Linked DNA regions of Homo sapiens: regions 2 and 3 are each linked to region 1. The links are contacts of gene promoters, found by promoter capture Hi-C in blood cells and fetal thymus (Javierre and others, 2016). All regions are on one chromosome and are shown on one strand. Each heading gives the region's core, a stretch centred on a gene start or on the middle of the fragment in contact. The rest is flanking DNA. Distances are from core to core; before and after follow the strand shown. Region 1 holds the start of BARHL2 (BarH like homeobox 2). Region 2 has its middle 120 kb from the start of ZNF644. Region 3 overlaps ZNF644 (zinc finger protein 644).

What was found. Contacts are between HindIII fragments. The CHiCAGO score rates a contact against its expected background, and 5 or more counts as called.
Region 2: a fragment that was not itself captured here is called in contact with the fragment with the promoter of BARHL2 in region 1 in 1 of 17 cell types (non-activated CD4 T cells); the score reaches 5.1 in non-activated CD4 T cells.
Region 3: a fragment that was not itself captured here is called in contact with the fragment with the promoter of BARHL2 in region 1 in 1 of 17 cell types (megakaryocytes); the score reaches 5.4 in megakaryocytes.

Annotation. Positions count from the first base shown.
Region 1 is chr1:90,715,374-90,720,004 of GRCh38, reverse strand. It overlaps BARHL2 (BarH like homeobox 2), which reads left to right and starts at 2,703. Exons shown (of 3, transcript NM_020063.2): 1 at 2,703-3,434. The coding sequence starts at 2,810. The HindIII fragment of the contact is 6,796 bases long and covers 1-4,631 here.
Region 2 is chr1:91,140,382-91,145,012 of GRCh38, reverse strand. No RefSeq gene overlaps it. Among named protein-coding and RNA genes, the nearest start is that of ZNF644, 120 kb to the right of the region's middle. The HindIII fragment of the contact is 1,943 bases long and covers 1,774-3,716 here.
Region 3 is chr1:90,979,912-90,984,542 of GRCh38, reverse strand. ZNF644 (zinc finger protein 644) reads left to right here. Exons shown (of 6, transcript NM_201269.3): 2 at 2,173-2,233. The coding sequence starts at 2,190. Among named protein-coding and RNA genes, the nearest start is that of ZNF644, 40 kb to the left of the region's middle. The HindIII fragment of the contact is 5,838 bases long and covers 1-4,631 here.

The sequences.
Region 1 (4,631 bases), core at 1,454-3,953:
CGGGCCCTGCGGCCTCGGATAAGCCACCTCCACAAGTCTACCGTCTGTGTTTCGGTAACCGCGGCCGAAGGCCGAGGCCGAGGCCGAGGCCGAGCCCGCGAGCTCTCCGGAGGGTCTCCCGGGCCAGCACTCAGTTCCCGCGCCAAAGGCATTTGATCCAACCCCGCTCCAGCCTACAGTGGCCCGACCCCACCCGGCGGGGCCCAGTCACCCGTTCCCGAGGGCCTCCCCGCACCCCTCTGGCCACTGTCGGCCCCTGCCGGGATGGAGCACGTCCGGAGTCCCCGCCTCGGCTCACCAACCCCGTCTTCTCCGCCAAACTCCCTTCGCCTTCCGAGAAGAGCGAGAGCTGCCCGGATTGTGCATCTCCTTGCCTCCGTCCCTTCAATCCCCGCTGTTCTCTCGGAACAGCCCTAGGAAAAATGCCACTGAGACGATGAGAAACAGCTCAACCCACCCTCCAAGTAGTGCTGTTTTTTTTTTTTTTTTTTTTTTTTTTTCTGGGTCAAACACACCGATTTCCCTAGGAAAACGCAGGCAGGATGAGTCGCCCAGCTACCCGCTTCCGGACCCAGGGCTCACACAGAAGCAGTTCCGACCGAAAGGCAAGAGCTTGTCCCAGGAGGTCATTTGCCTCCCTGACACCCCTCCCTTCGTCCTCAACAGATAAAAGCTGTGGCCCAGAAAGTGACCTCCAGAACTGCAACTAAACTCCAGATTTCGGCCCAGCCTTTGGAGACATTAAAGGCCACTCGAACATCATTCCAGACCTAGCCACGGAAGCGATGCCCGCCTCGCAGATTCATAGGGTTCTTAAAATGGTAATTTGGAGTAAAATGTAACTCAAAGAACTTTGAATCATTCATTAGCACCTTATAATTACTCTGCTAATTAGGTTGACACGGCACTTAATCAGGAGTAATACGCCGTCTTGTCACTGGCACTTCCCATTACTCTGACATTCAACATGAGACAGGTTGGAGACGTCCTAGAGAAAATAATGCAAGTTGATACACTCCAACGAGGCGTTACAGTCATGCTCCGGGTCCCAAGTGGATCCGCAGTGACTGTTTCCTTTCCAAATGAGCGCTCGCCGAAAGGGGCCGGGGGACAGAGGTGGACGGACTGCCGCGGGGCGCGGCAGGGGCGCGGGCTGCAGACCAGCCGCTATGGGTCCTGAGCCCCGCGCCCGCCCGACACCGCAGTGAACCGTGGCTGCCCTCGCCACCAGAGAACGCCTCGGGCATTAGCTCCCCCGTTCGGGAGAAAGCGTCTGGCCAGGCATTTTTTCCAGCTGGAGACCAGGCTGGTTCCCCAGCTTGGAGCCTCAGGCCTCGTCCTCCCCGAGAGCGCCTGGTGGACGCGGACCCGGCTGTGTCCCTCTCAGGGATCCGCCTCCCGCCGGGCTGAGCCCGAGCGCCTGGGTTCGTCGGGCGAGAAATCAGAGCCCAGAGCCGACCCGCCCGCTTATGCAAGGCTCCGGCGCCTGAAGTGACACACTTTTCTGTGGATTCCTTCAGGGATCTCCTTCCTCCGCTCTTAATGTCTTCGGACTATTCCCGCGCGCGTTTGGGGAGGCTGCGAGGGCCGCCGCGCTGGAGCCTAAAGGTAAGTCCCTTCCCGTCCTCTTCTCTCTCTCTTCTGACTTAAGAAAACGGGCGAATCCTTGCTACTTTTTTTTTTCTTTCTCCCCTTTGGTTCCCTTTCTCTGGTCTCCCTCTGATCTCTTCCTCCCTCTCCCTTTGCCTCGCACTCGTGATTGTGGACACCGGGACCACTGGACTCGGAGTTCGGCTCAGGGCTGCGGGCTCAGGGATGTGCGGGTTCTCAAAAGAGCAGCGGAGTCCGAGCCGAGTCCGCTGACGGGCTCACGAGCGCTGCGCCTATTGGCTCCCTGGCACGTCGGCGTCCCTCGCTCGCGCGGGCGCGGCCAATAGGGGCGCGGGGCCGGACGCGCGGCCTCGGTGGCGGGGGCGCGGGCCCGGCGCGGCGCGGCGCGGGGAGCGGCGGTAGTGGCCGTGACGTCACGGGAGGGGGTCGGCGCCGCCCGCCAGCAGCCGGATTACAAGCGAACGCGCCCGGCAGCGGCCGGAGTCGCCCGGCATCGCGTCTCCGCCGCTTCCTCCTTCTGTGCCTGCTCCTTCTCGTCGTCCTCCTCTTCCTCCTCCTCCTCGGGTTGCCGCAACCGCTGCGGCCGTGTCTGCCCCGCAACTTTCCAAGAAAGTTCAGAAACTCGGCTACGGGGCTGCCGAGTGGCGCGCGGCTGCCACCTCGGGAGCCGCGGGGGAGTTCCGAGGGCGCGCGGCCGCCCGGGCTTCGCGGTCGCTGCACCTGCCGCGTCCGCCGCCGCCACCGCTGCCGCCCGGTGCCAGGCTGTGGGCAGACCCCGGCAGCGGCGGCGGCGGCGGCTTTGGCGTAGCTTCCCGCCGCCTGCGCCTTCGCCTTCGCCTGCGCCTTCGCCTTCGCCTTCGCCTTCGCCTGGGTCCTCCGCGCCGCCACCGCCGCGCCACGTGCGCAGTCGTTCCTGGAGCGCAAGTTCCGAGTTTTCTCAGAAATTTTTTTAACTCCCCCCGCCCCCCGCATCTTTTTTCTTTCCACCCCTACTTTTTGCATAAAAGAAAAAAAGTTGTGTCGAAAGTATCCACAGATTGCCACTTCCCAATTACCCTTCCTTCTCTCCCCGCCCCACTTTTTTTTTTTTAAGCGGCGGCAACATTGTTTGGTGTTTATTTTGTTTTACGATCGATAGCTTTCTTCGCTGGTTCGGGGCGGCTGCTGAACGGCGGAGTGGCGTGGACCTCATGTAGCAATGACAATGGAAGGGGCCAGCGGGTCGAGTTTTGGAATAGACACGATTTTGTCCAGTGCCAGTTCAGGCAGCCCAGGCATGATGAATGGAGATTTCCGCCCGCTCGGTGAGGCCAGGACCGCGGATTTTAGGAGTCAGGCCACCCCATCTCCCTGTTCGGAGATTGATACCGTAGGGACGGCGCCTTCTTCTCCTATCTCAGTCACCATGGAGCCCCCGGAGCCGCATCTGGTAGCAGACGCGACCCAGCATCATCACCACCTCCACCACAGCCAGCAGCCGCCGCCGCCGGCCGCGGCCCCGACGCAAAGTTTGCAGCCTTTGCCCCAACAGCAGCAGCCGCTGCCGCCACAGCAGCCGCCGCCGCCGCCCCCCCAGCAGCTGGGCTCGGCCGCCTCGGCCCCCAGGACTTCCACGTCTTCTTTTTTAATTAAGGACATCTTGGGCGACAGCAAACCTCTGGCGGCATGTGCACCCTACAGCACCAGCGTATCCTCTCCCCACCACACCCCGAAGCAGGAGAGCAACGCAGTGCACGAGAGCTTCAGGCCAAAGCTCGAGCAGGAGGACAGCAAGACCAAACTCGACAAGCGGGAGGATTCCCAGAGCGACATCAAATGCCACGGTGAGTCCCGCCACCCGGCGCTCTCGGCCGTCTAGCTTGTCCTCCTGGTTCCCAATCTCCCCTTCAGCCTTCAGCAGATCTCTGCTGGGGAGCGATTCCAGGAGCTTCTCGGGCGACTGGGCGACGGTCAAAAGACTGCAGCTGAAGGGAGGCCTGGGCGTGCGATGTGGGGACTCCTCGAAGTTCTGTTTATTGTTCTACCCCACAACCTTCACGGCCATCCAGCTCCTTCCTTTGTTTTATTTAATTTTAATCTACTGGGGGTTGAGGGGCGGCGGAGGGCATCCGACAGGAAATACTTTTCGTTGATAAAAGGGATGGACTTGGGGTTTTTCTAGCCTAGACTTTGGGAATGGGAATGGGGGGAGGTAGGAGAGAGAAACCACTTAGCTAGCGTGGGTGTGATCACAACCTGGTGTTTATTCTTTAGTACAAGTGATTTCACCCCCCCCCCACTTTATTTTCTTAACATCATCACAGGAATTATCGGTTTTAATGGAGGAAAAATTTCTGAGTTCATGAACAGAGCAACTTTAAAAAAATTAGATTGTGGTTAGCCCGTAAAAATTTGTAATAAGTTTCTTAAAAGCACCCTTCTTACCCTATGGCCTCAACTGAGTATCTGTATCCTACAAAGATTTTTGGCCCCTTACAAGTACTTAGGAGGTAGTATTTATAAAAATAAAATCTTATGAAATTGGATTAATCTCTTTTTTGTTAAAAAAAAAATAAGATGACAATGGAAATTGTCCTTCAACTCCCTTTTTCCATTTTCTCATCAGACAATTTCATAAGTAAATGTGGTAGTCTTTGCATGGCAAAAGTTTTAACATACCAGGAGAGCTTTTTCTTCCTTTACAGACACATTGTTTATTATTATTGATCCTTGTTTTTCTGGTAAAGAAATGTACTGACTGGAAGGTAGGATGTTGGCTCCTCATTTTACTATTATAGCATTAGCATAATAGTGTCCAAAACAGATGTACAGTCTGGTCTGGCGATTTTTTGTGCACCAACCTCCCCAGTGGGTCAATTAGAGAGATTATTGTTCTTCCTGCAGGGAAGATCAAGGAGCACTGCACAAACGGGTACAAACAGGGAGGGATTGACATATCGATTTCCCAGCATTTCAGTAAAAAACCAAAGTTGACAAATAGAATCCGGAAATCTCCATGCTGTCACCTGGATGGGCTCAGT
Region 2 (4,631 bases), core at 1,496-3,995, 420 kb before region 1:
GAGTTCAAAATGGGTCGTAAAGCAGCAGAGATAATTTGCAACATCAACAATGCATTTGGCCCAGGAGCTGCTAACCAACATACAGTGCAGTGGTGGCTCGAGAAGTTTTGCAAAGGAGAGGAGAGCCTTGAAGATGAGGAGCACAGTGGCCGGCTATGGGAAGCTGACAACGACCAACTGAGAGCAATCATCTAAGCTGATCCCCTTACAACTACACAAGAAGTTGCTCAAGAACTCAGTGTTGATCATTCTATGGTCATTCAGCATTTGAAGCAAACTGAAAAGGTGAAAAAGCTCCATAAGTGGGTGCCTCATGAGCTGAGTGAAAATAAAAAAAATTGTCGTTTTGAAGTATCGTCTTCTCTTATTCTGTGCAACAACAATGAACCATTTCTTGATCAGATTGTGATGTGTGACAAAAAGTGGATTTTATATGACAACTGGTGATGACCAGATCAATGACTGGACTGCGAATAAGCTCCAATGCACTTCCCAAAGCCAAACTTGCACAAAAAAAGGTCATGGTCACTGTGGTCTGCTGCCGGTCTGATCCACTACAGCTCTCTGAATCCCAACAAAACCATTATATCTGAGAAGTATGCTCAGCAAATCAATGAGATGCACCGAAAACTGCAACAATCACACGGGCATTGCTCAACAGAAAGGGCCCAATTCTTCTCCACAACAACCCCTGACCACAACGCTTCAAAAGTTGAGTGAATTGGGCTACAAAGTTTTGCCTCATCTGCCATATTCACTTGACCTCTCGCCAACTGACTGCCACTTCTTCAAGCATCTTGACAACTTTTCACAGGGAAAACACTTCCACAACCAGCAGGATGCAGAAAATGCTTTCCAAGAGTTCATCAAATTCCGAAGCATGGATTTTTACGCTACAGGAAAAAACAAACTTATTTCTCGTTGGCAAAAATGTGTTGATTGGAATTGTTCCTATTTTGATTAATAAAGATGTGTTTGATCCTACTTACAATGATTTAAAATTCACGGCCCAAAACTGCAATTACTTTTGCACCAACCTAATATGATACATAAAGAATTTCTATAACTCAAACAACACAATTAAAAAATGGGGTCTGAACAGTGACTCCACCAAAGAAGATATACAGATGGCAAACAGGCACATGAAAAGCTGCTGTACATCATTAGACATTAGGAAATGCATATTGAAATTAAAATAAGACACCACCACATAGCCACTAAAATGGCTGTTATAAAAAAGAGTGAAAATACCAAGTTCTGGGGAAAATGTGGAGAAATTAGAGCCATCATAAGCCACTGGCGGGAATGTAAAATAGTATAGCCAATCTGGAAAACAAATTGGAAATTTCTTTAAAATTAATCAACTTACCATACAGTTCAGCAATTCCACTCTTAGATATTTACCAAAAAGAAAGGTGACCAGGAGCAGTGGTGCACACCTGTAATCTCAGCACTTTGGGAAGCCAAGGCAGAAGGATCACTTAAGGTCAGCAGTTCAAGACCAGTCTGGCCAACATGGTGAAACCCTGTGTCTACTAAGAATGCAAAAATTAGCTGGGCATGATGGTGTATGCCTGTTGTCCCAGCTACTTGGTGGCTAAGTCAGGAGAATCACTTGAACCCAGGAGGCAGAGGTTGCAGTGAGCTGAGATCATGCCACTGCACTCCAGCCTGGGCAACAGAGTGAGACTCTGTCTCAAAAAAAAAGAAAAAAGAAAAGAAATGAAATCATTTTTTCACCCAAAAACTTGTACACAGATGTTCATAGAAGCTTTATTTGCAATAGCAAAAAACTAGAAAAAATGCAAATGTACATGAACTTGTGAATGAATAAACGAATGTTGGCATATTCATATAAGGTAGTACCACTAAAAATTAGAAAGGAACAAACTGATAAATGCAAAAAGAGAAATGAATCTGAAAGCATTATGTTAAGTGAAAGAAACCAGACACAACAGGCAACATACTGACTCTAATTACATGAAAGAAGGTAGACGCTAGGGCCTAGAAGGTGATAACAGGGCATCAATTGCAAAGAAGCACAAGGAAAGTTTTCGGAGTTTTGAAACTGTTCTATACCATGACTGTGATGATTATGAGACTTTATTATTTATAAGCACTTGTCAAATTTCACACTTAAAATTGATGAATTTTATTATATGTAAATTATACATCAATAAATCTAATAGAAGAAGGTGAAGAAGGAAGAAGAAAAAGAAAAGGAGAAGGAGAGCAGGAACAACAACATCTAGAAGAGTTTCTCTACCTGAGTTTGGTAAAACTACTGTAATCAAGATGGTGTGATATAGGTGGGAAAAAAGATCAGTGGAACAGATTGCCTGGATTCCAGGAATTCACTTTTATCAGACGTGCCAAGGATAGTGGTCCATGTTATGGACCACTACGTGTTCATTTCTTTTATTTTTTTTTAAATTGGGGCAAGGGAGCAGGTGACCTAACTTAGTCATACCATCAACAAAAATAAAAGCCAACCAAATCTTCCTTACAAGAAGAATACACAGATGATAGTGACTATTCAGTTCCCCATTCAGGGATCCTGCACATCTAGAGCTGTTCTGGTATAGGTGTATGGTGCTGAGAACCCATCTGAGAATGAAGTCAGTTCATAGGGAGGCAGAGCTAACAAATGGTAGGAAGAACAGAACCTCTTCTGTTAATATTGGGCTCATGGAGCTAGTTATATCTGACCCAGATTGTCCTTGAACTGCCTAGTTATTTGAACTAATAAATTCCTTTTTCTGTCTAAGCAAATTTGAGTTGGGTTTCTGTTTCTTACAACAAAAGGAGTTCTGAATAATATATATGTGTACTATGAGGTAGTATTAGAAAAGCACTGGCTTATGCACATACTAAATGGGTGCCCTGGGGAGGTTCTTTTAAAGCTCTGGGCCCAGGTTTCTCATCTCTAAGTAGAAGTGATTGGAGTGGGACAATAGTTTCCCAGAAGAGTTGCACAAAACAAAGGCACCACAGTGACCTCAATAGGAAACGAGGGAGAAGCACAGTCTCTACCTAAGCTAGACTGGAAGTAAATCCTCCTTTAAAAAAGTTTTAGACGTTGGAATTACACAGTATGATGTGAAAAAAATTTCTTTGCTTAAAACAATGGCCGGGTGCAGTGCCTCACACCTGTAATCCCAGCACTTTGGGAGGCCAAGGAAGGTGGATCACCTGAGGTCAGGAGTTCGAGACCAGCCTGGCCAACATGGCAAAACCCTGTCTCTACTAAAAATACAAAAAATTAGCCAGGTGTGGTGTTGGATTCCTGTAATCCCAGCTACCCAGGAGGCTGAGGCAGGAGAATTGCTCGAACCCAGGAGGTGGAGGTTGCAGTGAGCCGAGATCACGCCATTGCACTCCAGCCTGGGCGGCAGAGAGAGACTCTGTCTCAAAAAAACCCCCAAAAAACCAAAACTTTTGTGGTCTTCTCTAATTCCAAAATTCCAATATTCTATGTTGCTTTCTCAGAGGCATGTAGCACTGAGCATTGTATTCTAACAAGTGAGGTTGCCTGGGGTCTGAATCCAGCTCCACCCCTTACTAACTGTGTGATCTTGAACAAGTTTCTCTATTCCTTGGCTTCTTCATCAGTAAAACAGGAAAAATAATACTATCTATTTCAAAGGTCTGTTATGAGGGTTGATTGGCAATATATCCAAAACCTTTCCAACCATGCCCGGCACCTGGTACAAGCTTGTTAATTGTTAGCAATGATGATGACAAAGAGAAGGCATTGAAGATTTCAGTGGAACTGACTTTGGGTTTGCCTTTGTCACCTCTCCCAAGGAGTAAGCTGGAAAAAGAACAGAAATGCAAATCAGGTCACCTGCTTGTTCCCTGTAATTGTGTCAATAGGTTGAGAGTAGGGAAAACCTCTGTCTCTGTTCTTTGTTTTCTGAATATAATTATCCTTTCAACTAAAGACTAACCTAAATAATATTTTTTGTAGGCCGGGCACGGTGGCTCACGCCTGTAATCTCCAACACTTGAGGAGGCCAAAGCAGGCAGATCACTTGAGGTCATGAGTTCAAGACTAGCCTGGCCAACATGGTGAAACCCCGTCTCTACTAAAAATACAAAAATTAGCTGGGCGTGGTGGCAAGTGCCTATAATTCCAGCTATACAGGAGGCTGAGGTAGGAGTGAGCCGAGATCGTGCCACTGCACTCCAGCCTGGGCGATAGCGCGAGACTCCATCTAAAAAAAAATATATATATGTATATATATATATATATATATATACACACGTGTGTGTGTGTTTTTATATATATGTGTGTGTATTTATATATATATATGTATGTGGCTTAAATAGCTTTTTTTCTGATTATTAATAGCATATAATACATTGATAAGTATTTGGAAATTTAAAAAGAAAATATTAAAACACATAATCCTACTGTGAACAGATAAATGCTCTTAACATTTTGATTATTTCCTATTTCAACTTGGTGTTATTTTCTTCCAGATTTTCTTTTAAAGCATTTTTTAAAATATATAAATGCATATTAAAAACTTTATTATGTATGTATATATATGCATATGCATTGTTTTATGTCCTTCTTTTCTCAAAGTTGTGTTGTAATTTTCCATGACATTAAATATTCTTTGAAA
Region 3 (4,631 bases), core at 811-3,310, 270 kb before region 1:
GGTGGTGTGTGCCTATAGTCCTAGCTACTTCGGAGGCTGAGGCACGAGAATCGCTTGAACCTGGGAGGCAGAGTTTGTAGTGAGCCTCTGTCTCCAAAAAAAAAAAAGACACCAGTCATATTGGGTAAAGGCCTCATAAGTTACCTTATTTAACTTGATTCCTGAAAGGCTCTCGCTCTAATATAAATTTCTGTTATGTAAGCCACCCAGTCTGTAGTATTTTATGACAGTCCTAGCAGACCAATGCAGTTCGTAACATCTTTTATATAGGGGTGCTTCCAGTTTATCTCCTTGAGAACTTGCTGTCTTCAGTGTATTAATTTCCTGTGGTTGCTCTAACAAATTACCACAAACTGGTTGGTGTAAAACAATAGAAATTAATTCTCTCACAGTTCTGGAGGCCAGAAGTTCAAAATCAGTATTATTGGGCCAAAATCAAGGTGATGGCAGGGCTTTGTTCCTTCTGGAGGGAGGCTGTAGAAGAGAATCCATTCCTTGCTTCTCCCTGATACTGGTGGGTGCTGGCATTCCTGGCTATGGCCCATGTCCTTCCAGTCTACGAAAGCAGCATTTTCAGTTCTCTCTGCCATGTCTTCTTCTTCTTCCTCTTTTTTGGAGACAGAGTCTTGCTCTGTTGCCTAGGCTGGATGCAGCGACGTGATCTTGGCTCATTGCAACCTCCGCTTCCTGAGTTCAAGCAAGATTATCCTGCCTCAGCCTCCTGAGTAGTTGGGACTACGGGCGCGTGCCACCACGCCCAGCTAACTTTTGTATTTTTAGTAGAGACGGGGTTTCACCATGTTGGCCAGGCTGGTTTCGAACTCCTGACCTCAGGTGATCTGCCCACCTTGGCCTCCCAAAGTGCTGGGATTACAGGTGTGAGCCACTGTGCCCGGCCTCTCCGCTTGTCTTCTCATTGCCTTCAGTGTGTGTCTCGTTCTTATAAGGATACATGTGATTGCACTGTGGTCCACCCAGATAATTCGGAATAATCCTCCCTCTCAAGATCCTTAATTTAATCATATCTACAAAGACTTCTTCTTTTTTTTTTTTTTTTTTTTGCCATATGAGGTAACATTGTCAGATTTCAGGGATCAGGGTGTGGAAGTCTTTTGTGGGGCAATAGTTCAGCTTATCCCACTCAGTCGTTTATAATAGACTTTTAATGTTCTTACTTTTATTTTATAGTTTAGTTTTTAACAGGCCCCCATGTCCACTTCTGGGTTGGTGGGAGATGATGGCATTGGGTGGCAGAGAAAATATCTCATCTTTTCTAGATACGATGCAGAAAATTCTAGGTCTGTGGTTCTAGGAAGGACAAATCAGAGATGATAGTTTGGAAATAAAACAGTTAAAGTAACCTAGCTTGAGAACAGAGGTAGGTGTGGTGGTGCTATTTTTTAAAGAATAGAGAATTTAGAAGAGTCACAAGCTAGTTTCAGGTATGGGGAGGAGGAGATATGTAGAGTGTGGGACATACTGAGTTTTCAGAAGTTCTGAAATATGGTAAAATTAGTAATGGTGGATATATTTTTGGCAAATGCATGTTCAGTGGATTGTTGGTGTAGAAGTCACTTTATACTAGATTAAAGATTAAATTGAAGATGGGGAGTATTGATACATTCTATTCTCTAGAATAATGATGCTTGGCATTTAGTAAGTAATCAGTGTTGGCTATTATGATAATTACTGTGGTTGCTCTAACAAATTACTTTGTTATATACTTTTATGTGTATATACTTTTATGTGTTCCAATACTATAACATTTTTGTCTTCAGCTGTTTGGTGTGTGTCTTGATATGTACATAATATTAAATAAATACTGATCTAGAAAGATGTGTGTTTTAGTAATTATTTTAATTATTGCCATTGCCATACTATTAAAATTAATGAAAACAATTTAGAATTTTTTTTAAAAAAAAGAATTAGTTTCAATTTCTCATTTGAATAGATTATTATTTCTCAAAAAAAGCAGTGAGGTTGGGGGGCACTTAGCAATAGTTTCCTAAAGATTAAAATGATGGTATTCTGGTTGAATGGTTTTTTTATGTTATATCAAGAAATATAATTTGGTTTGTGTTTTTTCATTTAAAATAATAGTGTATTGTAGCTATGGTTATTCATGCCTGAAACAAAAAATTAAACCTTGGTCATTGTGTGTATTTCTTTCAGGTTTGATTTAATTTTGGATGAGATCGTTCTTGCAGCAAGATGTTAATAAGACAAAATCTAGGTAAGTAGAAGACTGCTTTGTTAAATGTACATATCAAGGTAGGAATAATACAAAAAAATTATGTCTTAAAAATGTGGTGTTGAGTTCAGAACCAAAGAGTTTTTAAATAAAATTTTGAAATGCAAATAATTGACTTTTTGACACACTTGGTCCAGTTGATTTGATGGGAGTAAAATTATAACTATCACATTGTGGAACTAAATTTTTAGTTTCCTTCTTTTGTGTTGAGGTTAACTAAAGCATTCAAGTTTCCAGTGAATATTCTAAAATGTTAGAAAATCAAGTTAATGTTTGGTTCAGCCACTCTTATTGAACTCTGACCACTTCAGTAAGACATTTATTGTGTCACTTCATTGTTCTCTCCTTTGTTGATAAAGTATATGAATAGTCATTGCTTTTGTGAATTTTGCTTCATTTTTAATGTTAAGGAAGCACTTTCCCAAATGGGATAAATTTGCCAAATTGTGATTTCTTTCTGTTAATATAGTATTCAAAATTGTAAATTATTGTTTTAATGTTTTCCTAGTGGGTGTCTCTACTGAATGACCTCTCTAATATAGCATTCTGATTAGCTTTCTAAGGCTGTTCACTTTTAAAAAATTGAATTGGCATCATGTACTTTGGTATGTGAAAGAATGCTTTTTAATAATATAAGCCGTTGACATGTTTTAAAAAGATACATTTACTATTTATTGGTAAGTGAATATGGCTTCAAAATGGAAACAAGGGAAAAAGAACATTGAAAAAATTGGAGTTAACTTGGTTTTCCCTCTAACCAGATGTTTCAGCTGTCAAAAATTTGCTGATCTCAATGTTTGTTAAAGAAAAAAAAAGTCTAGGATGAAAAGTGCTGTAGTTCAGTAATATGCACTGAAGGAAATCTCAGTCAGTGGTTTGGGCATGTTTTGAAGCAAAATTTTGCTTTTATTGCTATTATATAATAATAACAGTAGTGGTAGTTTGAAGAGTACTTATTGTGCTCTAAATTCTGTTAAGTGCTTGTCATACCTTATTGATCGTTATAGTACCTCCTCTTGTTGTGTAGAAAAATTTTATTTTTTGCTTTATAGTGGGCTGTTTTTCTTTAGGAATAATAATTTACTTCTGTAGCATTTATTAGAAATAACACTTGCCTATGTATCTTCTTAAAGTGGAGAAGAAGCCATTCTTTTGTACTTGAAGGTCTTATTAGGGTTTGTTTTCTAGTTGAATATACAGTGTCTGTTAAAACTTTTGTTCTGATTTTCTATGTTTGATATTGCTTGTGGGATGACACTGGTTTAACTTATTCTGACCTTATTTTTCACCATGCTTATATATGTAGTTTTTTCTTTTTTATTATGGTATAGTTTACATATATATGGTAACATAAAATTTGAGGTATAGAGCTGAATGACTTTTCACATACACATTCATATGTGTAACCACCATCTAGATCAAGATATAGAACATTTCATTACTTTGGAAAGTTCCTTGTGCTTTCCCCGCTTCCAGTCTAATAGCCTTTTCCCCTGAAGTAATCATCTTTCTGAATTCTGTCAGCATAATTTAGTTTTGCCTGTTCTTGGATTTTATATATAGTATGTACTCTTGTATGTGGCTTTTTCATTCAACATAATGTTCTTGAGCTTCATCTATGTTGTGACTATGTCAGCAGTTCATTATTTTTTATTGCTGTTTTATTTTTAGTAATATTCCATTGTATGAACACACTACAAAGTATTTATGTTTTCTCAGTGATTTGGTTTATTGGATTCTCCATATCTCTGTTCCTACTTGCTAACTTTTTTATACTCTTTTCCTTCTTCTACCTGTCTCTTTAATTGTCCCCCATCACTTTCAGAATAAAATGTAGTAAACCTTATAACACGGCATGCAGTTATCTCACCGTAGCTATGCCAGAATGCTGAGGATTATATGAATAAACTAAGTATGATGTTTCATATTCCTAGTTCTAGTCCTAGGTACATGTTGTCACTTTCCCTCAATCCCATGCCTCCCCAGTTGCCAGAGACCTCTTTGCTAGTTGTCAGCTTATCTTCTGAAATAGCCTATCTGAAGCATCATCTGATCCTTTAAGCCATGCCTGGCCGTAGTTTGTCTTCTTTATTAGAGTATGAGTTTGAAGGTAGATACCATCCATGTCTCGTTTATCTTAGCACAGTGCTGGGAATACTGTGTGCATTCAGTAAATGTTTTGTTAAACATTGACCAATGAAAAGAGTTCTCCCAGGCAAATAGAGATTCAGAATGCTAGCTGGAATGGGATGGGGGCATTGGCACTTGAGTTGCTGTTGGGCCATAGGAAGGAGCCACTGAGGATAATCCACAGACAGCATTATAGACATTTTAGAAAGAGAAATAAAATATTTCCCAAGTCTTCATTCAATCCAGTTGA